Regions from separate parts of the Homo sapiens genome. Here regions 1 and 3 are each linked to region 2. The links are contacts of gene promoters, found by promoter capture Hi-C in blood cells and fetal thymus (Javierre and others, 2016). All regions are on one chromosome and are shown on one strand. Each heading gives the region's core, a stretch centred on a gene start or on the middle of the fragment in contact. The rest is flanking DNA. Distances are from core to core; before and after follow the strand shown.

What was found. Contacts are between HindIII fragments. The CHiCAGO score rates a contact against its expected background, and 5 or more counts as called.
Region 1: a contact is called between a fragment that was not itself captured here and the fragment with the promoter of UBE2V2 in region 2, in 1 of 17 cell types (total B cells). The highest score is 5.4, in total B cells.
Region 3: a contact is called between a fragment that was not itself captured here and the fragment with the promoter of UBE2V2 in region 2, in 1 of 17 cell types (total B cells). The highest score is 5.4, in total B cells.

The regions. Positions count from the first base shown.
Region 1 is chr8:46,921,314-46,924,639 of GRCh38, forward strand. No RefSeq gene overlaps it. Among named protein-coding and RNA genes, the nearest start is that of LINC00293, 82 kb to the left of the region's middle. The HindIII fragment of the contact is 404 bases long and covers 1,271-1,674 here.
Region 2 is chr8:48,006,760-48,010,052 of GRCh38, forward strand. It overlaps UBE2V2 (ubiquitin conjugating enzyme E2 V2), which reads left to right and starts at 1,672. Exons shown (of 4, transcript NM_003350.3): 1 at 1,672-1,711. The coding sequence starts at 1,696. RefSeq lists silencers at 1,378-1,637, 1,868-2,067. The HindIII fragment of the contact is 2,629 bases long and covers 1-2,449 here.
Region 3 is chr8:46,903,445-46,907,016 of GRCh38, forward strand. No RefSeq gene overlaps it. Among named protein-coding and RNA genes, the nearest start is that of LINC00293, 64 kb to the left of the region's middle. The HindIII fragment of the contact is 7,035 bases long and covers 1-3,572 here.

The DNA of each region.
Region 1 (3,326 bases), core at 223-2,722, 1.1 Mb before region 2:
TCAGGGCTCAGGGGAAGGAGGAACAGGCTGGGTGGGGCAAAAATTGGTGTCACCCCTCCTCTCCCATGGGCTTGCTTTGGGACACGTGCTCCCAGGGCAGCACAGTCTGTCTGCAGTCAGACCCAGGAGAATCAGACGATGCCTGGCAGATGACACATTGCCAGCAGACACTCGGAAGATGGCTGAGTGATAAATGAATGGACAGGGCACCGAGGAAGCTGTGCCCCTGCTGCCCATCACAAGGTCCTGCAGTGCCCTGCCCTCCTGCCCCACACTGTGCTAGGTGTTCATGCCAGCCCCTCACCCACCAAGTCACTCCTGTCTCTTGCCGATGTCCCAGAGGATGTGGGGTGAGACCCACCATCCACATGTGCCATGCACTGGCTCTGCTGAAATAAAGAAGATCCCTCTGGGTTAGGGAGGGCAGGTGAGAGGCCCTGGGGTCTGCACAGGTGGTGTCGGCTCAGGTTCCGCTTCTGCCTGCCAGCTGTGTGTCATGGGCAGATCAGCTCATTCTTCTAAAGCTCAATTTCCACTTCCACAGAACGCAGGCAACAGCAGCCCTTCATGGGGCTCTTGTGAGTCCTGTTATTTATCACACATGGAGTGTCTCCTAGAATTCTCTGGCACACAGTAGGAGCTTAATAACTGTTACTACCGTCATTCACAGATCCCAAAAGAATCCTTGATTGCTCTTTTATTCTGTTCCCAAATATGCTTACCTGCCTCTGTGCAGAGACCTTTGGGGATGGGGAAGGCGGTGAAGGGGGAGCACGTGGGCTCTGCCCCACCAAGCTCTTAGACACACCTGTTCCTATGCTGGGCTGCTGAGCCATGGATGGTCGCCTGGCCAGGGAGGTGCCCATCAGCACATCATGACTGACTGGAATGGAGCTGGGACAGACCTAAGGATGCAGCATTCTACAGATGAGAGCTGAGGCTCAGAGGAGTGAGGTGGCTTCAGCCACTCCAGCACAGCCATGCCTGTCCCCGGGTAGGCTCTGCTGTAAGCCATCCCTCCCCACTCCAACCCTGTTAGCTGGATTCCATTGTTCTCTCTGTTTTCTGGATAAGGAAACAGACTCAGGGTCACATGAAAATGAAATCCAGCTCTTCCCAACTCAAAAGCCAGCTGTGACTTCCTGTTGGCTGGGAACTGGCCCAAAGGCAGCCTGTGTGCCCTGTCCTCGAAGTGTCACTCAACCTTTCCTGTAAAAAATAGAACAACAGCACAGAAGCACTCCCATAAACTCACTGCCAGTGGGAAGAAAGCTTCAGAATGCAGAAAAGCTACCCAGCCTCCATGCCAGATGAATCTGAGAATCAGGAAAACTGGGGTCAAAAACCACTTAACGGGAGCCCAACTCCCAAGGAGCTCTTAGGAGACAAGGAGGAGTCAAGCCTTGGATTCCAGGCATTATCTGATTCCTTCCAAGCACGATCCCCAGACCCCAGATGCCAGGCCACCCACAGAGCCCTGACGTCCTCCTGTGGACACCCTCCCAGGGAGATGCCCATACTCCCCCAGGGATAAAGTCGCTTGGATACCACAGATGCTGCGGCCACACGGTGATGCTGGAGACTGGATGGAACTATAAAACATCAAGTTGCCTTTGAGAAGCTCTAGGGTCTGCAGCCCCAGCACCTGCACCTAGGTAGGATTTTTTCACCCCAAGCTTTTCTCTGTCTTGCATCCTTGCCGCCTTTCTGCCTATCTTCTCCATCTTCCTGGGAGCGGTGTTTGGCCTGCTCGCCCATCCACCTCAATGCACATGCCAGTCTCGGTTACTTGCCAACACCATGCAAGCTGCGGAGACACATAGAAGATGCACAACGTTTGCTCCCTGTCTACAGGGAGATGGCAGTCTCAGAGACGAAGCCAGACAAATGCCTCTGTCGTTTAAATCAATCATGTCCAACTACAATTGAGGACAAAGTAAGAGGACTGGTGATCTAATAACAGGAATTTAGAGAAGTGGGAACTCACCGAGTGGTCGGAGCCATCCTCCTGTGTTCAGGCTTGATGCATGAGTAAGATTGTACTATGTGGAATGGAGAGGAAGGGTGTGCTCGGCAAGAGGAACAGCAAGTGCAGAGGCTCAGAGGTTAAAGAGAGGAAACCAGAATGAGGAGTGAGGGCCAGAGTTGGGGCCAGAGAGAAATGCAGCTAGACTCTTATGGTAGTGGTGTGCTTAGCTGTGGTCTGTGCAGGATAGTTTCCGAATAGAGCAGGGAGACATGAATGCCCTGAGATCAAGGGCAGTGGGAAAGTGCCTTGTGGGGAGCCTGGTGTCTGCAGGCAGGCAGAGCAGGGACCAGGAATGGCTGATGGCTGGAATCGCTAAGCCGCATAGGATGGACTATTATAAGTTCAGCACCTGGACACTGGCCACTTCAGATCTGTCTATACTCAGTTGTAATCCAGGCCTTTACCATTGTCCTCCATATTTCCACCCAGCTTTCTTTTCCATTTATTGGAGAGCCAGGCCACCTGGGTTCTGGTGCTGCTGGATTCAGGCCCTGCCCTCAGGCTCATGGCAAGCAGGTAGACAAAGAGAAAAGTAGACAAAAAAGATGGGGAGAAACCACTAAGCCAATACCATACCCACATAAACTCCAAACTCACATGTCTTTTAACATGGCACTGGGTGCTCCTGCAGTGGAAATCCACACGTGTTGTGGTTACAGCATCTTGTCTCTGAAAAAACTTCACAACCACCATTGTGCTTTGCCCCGCATGGCCCTGCTCAGGGGTAACTGTCCATCTTCCCTAAAGGAGGAGAGGCTGCCTGATGTTCAGGGAGCCCAGAGGTCTTGGCCAAAGCCACAGCAATGCCTGTGGATATAGGCCCACAGAGCAGCCCTACTCAAACTAGGCCCTGGCCCATCAGAATGCTCTGCCCTACAAGCCCTGCCATCCCACCACCCACCCCTCTGCTGGGCCTTGTTGGGCTGCCATGGGAATGTGACTGGCCAGCTCTCAGTGCCCTGAAACCCATGAGGTAGACCATCGGGCCAGCCCAGCTGTTCTTGGATCCTTCCTGATGCATGCCAACATCTGGGGCCACTTGGGTCCCAAGGAGAATTGTTGAGCACCAGGGCAAGAAGCATAAGGACTCACACCATCCCTCCCAGGTTCCATCACCCATCACTTCACCTGGGCTTGCATGAGCAGCCCCATCAGGCATGAGAAGCACATAGCATGTCCTGCCCATGGGGAGGCCTCCCAGGGGAAACAGGCCAGGCTGGGGGGCCATGGGGCTTTACAAACATCTCAAAGGCAGCAAAAGGAGGACTTTTCCTCAGCCAATAGCACCCCAGGATTT
Region 2 (3,293 bases), core at 422-2,921:
CAATAAACTAGGCATTGATGGAATGTATCTCAAAATAATAAGAGCTATTTACGACAAACCCACAGCCAATATCATACTGAATGGGCGAAAACTGGAATGAAGGATTCTTTTTATTTTTTATTTTTTTTTATTTTGAGATGGAGTCTCGCTCTGTCCCCTAGGCTGGGGTGGAGTGCAGTGTCGCCATCTCGGTTCACTGCAAGCTCCAACTCCCGGGTTCACGCCATTCTCCTGCCTCAGCCTCCCGAGTAGCTGGGACTACAGGGGCCTGCCACCATGCCTGGCTAATTTTTTGTATTTTTTTTTTTTTAGTAGAGACAGGGTTTCACTGTGTTAGCCAAGATGGTCTTGATCTTCTGACCTCGTGATCCGCCCGCCTCCGCCTCCCAAAGTGCTGGGATCCATGCCCGGCCAAAAGCATTCCCTTTGAAAGCCGGCACAAGACAAAGATGCCCTCTCTCACCACTCCTATTCAACATAGTATTGGAAGTTCTGGCCAGGGCAATCAGGCAAGAGAAAGAAATAAAGGGTATTCAATTAGGAAAAGAGGAAGTCAAATTGTCTCTGTTTGCAGATGACATGATTGTATATTTAGAAAACCCCATAGTCTCAGCCCCAAATCTTCTTAAGCTGACAAGCAACTTCAGCAAAGTCTCAGGATACAAAATCAATGTGCAAAAATCACAAGCATTCCTATACACTAATAACAGACAAACAGAGAGCCAAATCATGAGTGAACTCCCATTCACAATTGCTACAAAGAGAATAAAAATACCTAGGAATACAACCTACAAGGGATGTGAAAAATCTTTTTTTTTTTTTTTTTTCAGTTTTATGTAGAGACTAGGTATCACTATGTTGTCCAAGCTGGTCTCAAAGTCTTGGGTTCAAGCCATCCTCCTGCCTCAGCCTCCCAAAGTGTTAGGATTACAGAAGTGAGCTTCGGCGCCCAGCCTGTATTACTTTCCTTTTTCTTTCTTTCTTTTTTTTTTTTGAAATGGAGTCTCCCTCTGTTGCCCAGGCTGGAGTGCAGCGATTTCTGCTCACTGCAGCCTCACCTCTTGGGCTCACGTGACCCTCCCACCTCAGCATCCCTAGCTGTTCAAATTTATTGTCCAACTCTTTTGAATCGTTTATCAACGCAAATCTGTCAATGCCCACTTATTTTTATTTATTTTTTTGAGGCGGAGTCTCGCTCTGTTGTCCAGGCTGGAGTGCAGTGGCGCAATCGCGGCTCATTGCCCCTCCGCCTCCCCGGTTCAAACGATTCTCGTGCCTCAGCCTCCCAAATAGCTGGGATTACAGGCGCGCGCCACCACGTCCGGCTAATTTTTGTATTTTTAGTAGAGACGGGGTTTCGCCATGTTGGCCAGGCTGGTTTCGAACTCCTGACCTCGGGTGATCCGATCGCCTCGGCCTCCCAAAGTGCTGGGATTACAGACGTGAGCCACCGCGCCCGGCCCTCATGAACTTATTCTTTAGCGTTTCATTTTGAGAGCGGGATTCACAAGGGAATTGCGGAAACAGCAGCGAGGCCCCGCGACCCCTCGGCCCACGTGCGCGCTGTCCCTCGGGTCGCCCCGCGCCCGCCGGGGGCGGAGTCCGCTGTGACGCGTGCAGGGCGGCGCGCTCCCGGAAGTGACGCGCGACGGTTCGTGCGTGCGTGCGGGCGGCTGCGTCGGGCTGCAGGAGAAGATGGCGGTCTCCACAGGTCGGTTCCCGGGCCGGGCTGCGTGATTTTCCGCTCCGACCCGGCTCTGCCCCTCCGTCTGCTGCTGGCGCCCGAGCGCTGACCGTGCGGGAGAAGCCCGAGTGCGCTGTCTCGAATGCCGCGCTCTCCGCAGAGCGTAGCCTGGGACCGGGTGGGACCGGCGCCGAGGCCCCGGCGGCCGTCGGGTTGGCGGGTCGTGCTCGCGCGTCGGCCGCGCGCCGGCGGGCTGGGGGCGGGGTGGCTCCCGCGCGGGCGCCCCCGTAGGTTCCGGCGGGCGCGGGTCCGAGTTGTAGGCTGAAGGCTCTACGGGAGGGAGGCGAGGAGGCCCAAGGTGGGCGGGTGTCAACCTCCGGCACCGAAGATGGGTCAGGCCAACCGGCACCGAAGATGGGTCAGGCCAAGAGGTGTCCTGGATCAGAGTAGGGGTCCCATTCCTTTGGACTCTCCTTGACATGGGTTGGGGAGTAGAGGACGATTGCTCCTTAAAATAAGAGCGAGAGGATCTTTCTTACCTGACTGAATACGTGTGATCTTTTTATTATTTATGAGGAAAACTGCAGTGCAAACAAAATAAAAGACCAGAGCAAGATGAAAGCTAATTGAAGAACAAGTGGTTTCTTAGATAAGCTGTTCAACTCCTCTTTCCTACTGAATACAATGTTTGGTTTCCTGTGAGCACACAAGTATTAACGTTGAGGTTTTAGACATTAGACCATTTCAGAAATGTTAAAAACGTTAAGCTTTAGTTTACATTTAAAAATGTTAACCCGTGTGATCTGCCTTTTTCTTTTCTTTTCTTTTTTTTTTTTTTTTTGAGTCAGAGGCTCACCCTGTTGCCCAGTTGGAATGCAGTGGTGTGATCTCGGCTCACTGCAACCTCCACCTCCCAGGTTCAAGTGATTCTCCTGCCTCAGCCTCCCAAGTAGCTGGGATTACAGGCGCGTGCCACCAGGCCCGGCTAATTTTTGTATTTTTAGTAGAGACGGGGTTTTGTCATGTTGGCCAGACTGGTCTCGAACTCCTGACCTCAGGTGATCCGCCCACTTCGGCCTCCCAGAGTGCTGGAATTACAGGTGTGAGCCACCGCGCTCGGCCTGATCTGCCTTTTCCTAGTCTTCGTTGAAACAAGAGTATAGAGCAGTGTGATTTAATAGTTTATGCCATCATTGCATAATAAAATGAATTTTCAAATCTATATGTACTGAAATGGAAGGCTTTGAATATATGTTGTAATTGTTGCTTTAGAGTAATACCTCAGGATACATTCTGCATACATTTTAATTAAGTGGTGTCTTTTACATCTTTATTACATATAGGTGTCATAGGTTTTAAGATCTTTAGCAGTTCTAGTGTTGGGGTAGTATACATACTTGGGTCAGCTAGCTAGTAAGGCAAGGATTGTTTTAAAAGTGGAATTTTAGTGTTATGACTTTACTGTGCTTGCTGAAATCTAATCTGTGCTCGTTAACGGGGCCATATCTTTATAACAGTTGTGCTTAGGACCTCTTATAGATTTTTGAAAATTTAGTAATAAAATAATGCATTTTAATTTAATACTTTTCATTTTCCTTTTGTGGGTTGC
Region 3 (3,572 bases), core at 755-3,254, 1.1 Mb before region 2:
ACTTGCAGTGGTGATGTGGAAATGTATTCAAGAGATACCTGGACCAGATGCTGGAAAAAGACCTGGAAATGTCAGGTCCCCGCTTTTCAAACTGCTGCCCTGTGGCCAGGGACAGAGTCCCTGCTCTGGGGAGATGAGACAGCCCCTGCTGGGATCGATCGCCCTGCCTCTTGTCTCAACTTAGAGCAGTGTTTGCTAATGTCTCTTGCATTAAGAACAGGGAAAAAGAAAGGAATCAGGGCAGCCTCATCTTACAATCTGGTAAGAGGAGACAAGCATGTGTGTATTAGGTTTCTGTCATATGCCATTTCCTTTACAAATATCATGTCATGTAACATGCACAATTCTCTGAAGAATTGTTACTGTATTTATTTTCATGAATGCTCTCACATAAGTCTCTTCAGGATACAGAGGCCACTGTGTCACCCAGGTTCTCACCAAGAGGTAGATATTCACCTAAACTTTGTGACCTCAGGTTCAGAGACCCTGCTTATGCACCTCCTTTGCCAAAGCTAACCTGGCATCATTCTCTGTCCAAACTCTGCTCTCCAACCAGTACAAGTTTTGCCTCTTCCACGAAGCTCCACCCAGGCACCCATTCTTGGTCTGCATCTTCTCACTGCCTGTAGTCAGGGTGAGTCTTTGGCACTGGGCATCTGCCGTCTGCTACTCAGGTTGTGTAATTATTCTTGTGTACACAAGTCTGTCTCATTTGTGCTTACAAATTTCTTATGGGCCTCTAACACTATAAAACAAGCCAGTGCTCTAATTTTACAGATGAGAAAACTGAGGTTCAGAAAGTCCTACGAAAACTTCAGTGGGTCATGCAACCAGTAAATTTTGGCTCCAAGAATGATCTTCTTTTATCTGCACTCTGTTTTTAATAGACAAGAGCCAAAGGAAGTCAATACAAACAAACACAACAGCTATTTAATTACAAGGGATGTGATACTACAGAGAGAAGATTGTCTGGTTTCTCTTTATGAAAACTTTAAAAGAAAGAGTAAATACTCCTCTGTATGGGAAGGCTAAGATGCAATTCTACTCAAAAAATCTCCAGACTGCAAAATATGGTGTTCCAGTCTTTCTCTGGCTTGTGAAAGAGTGACTCTCCTGGTGTTTCCTGCAGTGCTATTCTAGCTCCTGGCATTGCCTGGGGCGGCCATTGGCAGAGAGTGGAAAATGCTATGGCTCATCCCAGCACTCCCAGAGACCGTGAGGTCCTAGGGGCTGCACTGCCAGAGAGCCACTGACAATTTCATAAGGTTCGTTTACCCTCACTGCTTCATCCCTTATGGTTATTTGTCTAAAAGCTAATTTAAAAATGCATCTGCATCCTTAAGAAGACACTGCAGATGGATTCCAGAGCTGTAACTTTCTTCCTCTCTGACAAGGCATTGTGCAATGCACTGACTGAAGGACCTGACTCAGCTACTCATGCTGGGCTTTCATGGCTTCAGGAACTGATGATTCCAGAGGTTTGTCCAAGACTTATCCGGACAAATTTTTAAAATGGTCATCCCAGTAAGCAGCTCTTCTGCTGCTTAAAGCTAAAATACAATCATGCTTTTCTCTTCATAACCCTCTCTCCAGCCAACCCATGTCCCCCACATGTTCCCACCAAGTCTCCATCCCTTTGCTTTGGGGCATCCTCCCCCTCGCTGGTTCTCTGTCTCCAGACCCCTCTGACACCTCTGGGCCCTGCTACCAGGGCTCTTGCCTCAGCATACCCTATTGTTCTTTCAGCTCCCTGTTTTCTATAGAAAGATCTCGTTATTAAGAATCCCATCAGCCCGAGGGTAGGAAACCTGGTAGGAGGGCTCACATGCAGTACAGGGCAGGGCTCAGGGCACAGGCTCTGCAGCTAGAATGCCTGGGGCTGAAACCCAGATCTGCTGCTCATGACCCATACTCCAGGCCTCACTCTCCATCTGTGAAATGGGAATAATAATTGTACTACTGAATAGTCACCACACGTAGGAAAAACACGTGGAAAACCACCTTATATCTAGCAGATGCTTAGTGAACGTTATCTATTGATATTGTTACTTTTCCATAGTAACTTCCCCATACTCCCTTCAAATACCCCCAGTTCCCCAGGCTTCACTGTAGCTGATCCAAGCATAAGCCAGGGATTCTGGCATGAGCGGGGTGAGCTCCTAGGGCTGCACATAAAGTAGACCCATCTAGAATAATGCCTTATGATGGAAGAGTTATTTTCTTCTGACTATCTGAGCCAACTGAAATCTGCTTCAAATGAAGCATGTGACTGTGTGGTCAGTCCGTCTTCACAGACAGCAGTGATAAAAGCTGGTGTGCATCAGCCACCCACCACATGCCAGGGGTTCTGGCTGACCCGGACATGCACTTGCCCTATGCTCACAGTGGGCCTGCAAGGGGGCACCACAACCCCACTTTGTAGGTGGAGACAAAGAGGCTCAGAGAGGCTGGTGATGCAGCCAAAGTCACCCACTGGTGAGAGGCAGAAATCAGACTTGAAATTGAATCTTCTGACTCTAGATCTACAGGGAGCTGAGCCTGGGTTCCTTCCACTTTCAATGTTCATGATTCTGTGATCCTAACACTGGTTCTTATTCCATGAGGGTGAAATGGCTTGGTTTTCAGGCCTTAGAGAGACCTTATCTGATAGCTCCTGGCTTCTGTACTTCTTGAACTACATTCTCCTGTCCCCTCCAGCCTGGGATCTGGGTCTGGCCAGAGGCAGGACCTACCCGGTGATCTTAGGAAGCCCCAGGCCTGAAAAAACTCAGGATCAGGTCCAAGTAACTGCATTTTTGGACTGTTGGCCTTTGGGAAGCAGGATGACAGTGAGGGAAATACTGGTGATTTTCATAGAGGATTTTGAACCTTGTCTGATGGAGATAATGAAGCTCCTGCCCCCTCACATGTGTGGCCCATTTTGCTGCTGGGGAATAATGCTAGGTCTCTCTTGTCTTTGCAGATCCTGGCCTGCTCTTGCACACATATCTCAAGCCCCACACCCCGGGTTCCTGGATCATCAATTTGTCTAAGCCTCCAGAGCCTCCACCGGCTCATGGCCTGAGAATGGGATCTGTCTGGCAATCAATCTTTTTCAGCAGTGCTGAAGATCTAACCTCACAGAAAAGAGTCTAAGGCAAAAAACGAAAGCCAGCTTTTGCCAGGCAAAGCACCTTGTGCCTCTCCCAGGCATCTAGCATGCTCCTGCATAGCCCAGGCTCAGCCTGGGGCCTCTCGCTCTCATCAGGGCACGTGCAGACAAGGAGCCACCGTTCAACTTCACAGAGAGGCCACATTCTTGCCCTGGTCTTGAAAGAATCCCAGACTGTAATGGAAAAGGATCGACGTGGGAGAAAGAGGTTTGCTCACTTTCTGACTTGTTCTCTCGTGCTCACCTAAATCTCTGTCTTTGGACATCGCCCTCAGTGCTGTCAGGAGTCTGGATGCACAATTGGGGTCCTCTGCACCAATTCTCCCCTGGGCAGACACCTGGAAATATCTGGGTTTGCTCAGGGCCTGCTCCTCCTACTGCAGCAAGTGTTCCTGCCAGGACCCTGTAAACAGAGAAGGCA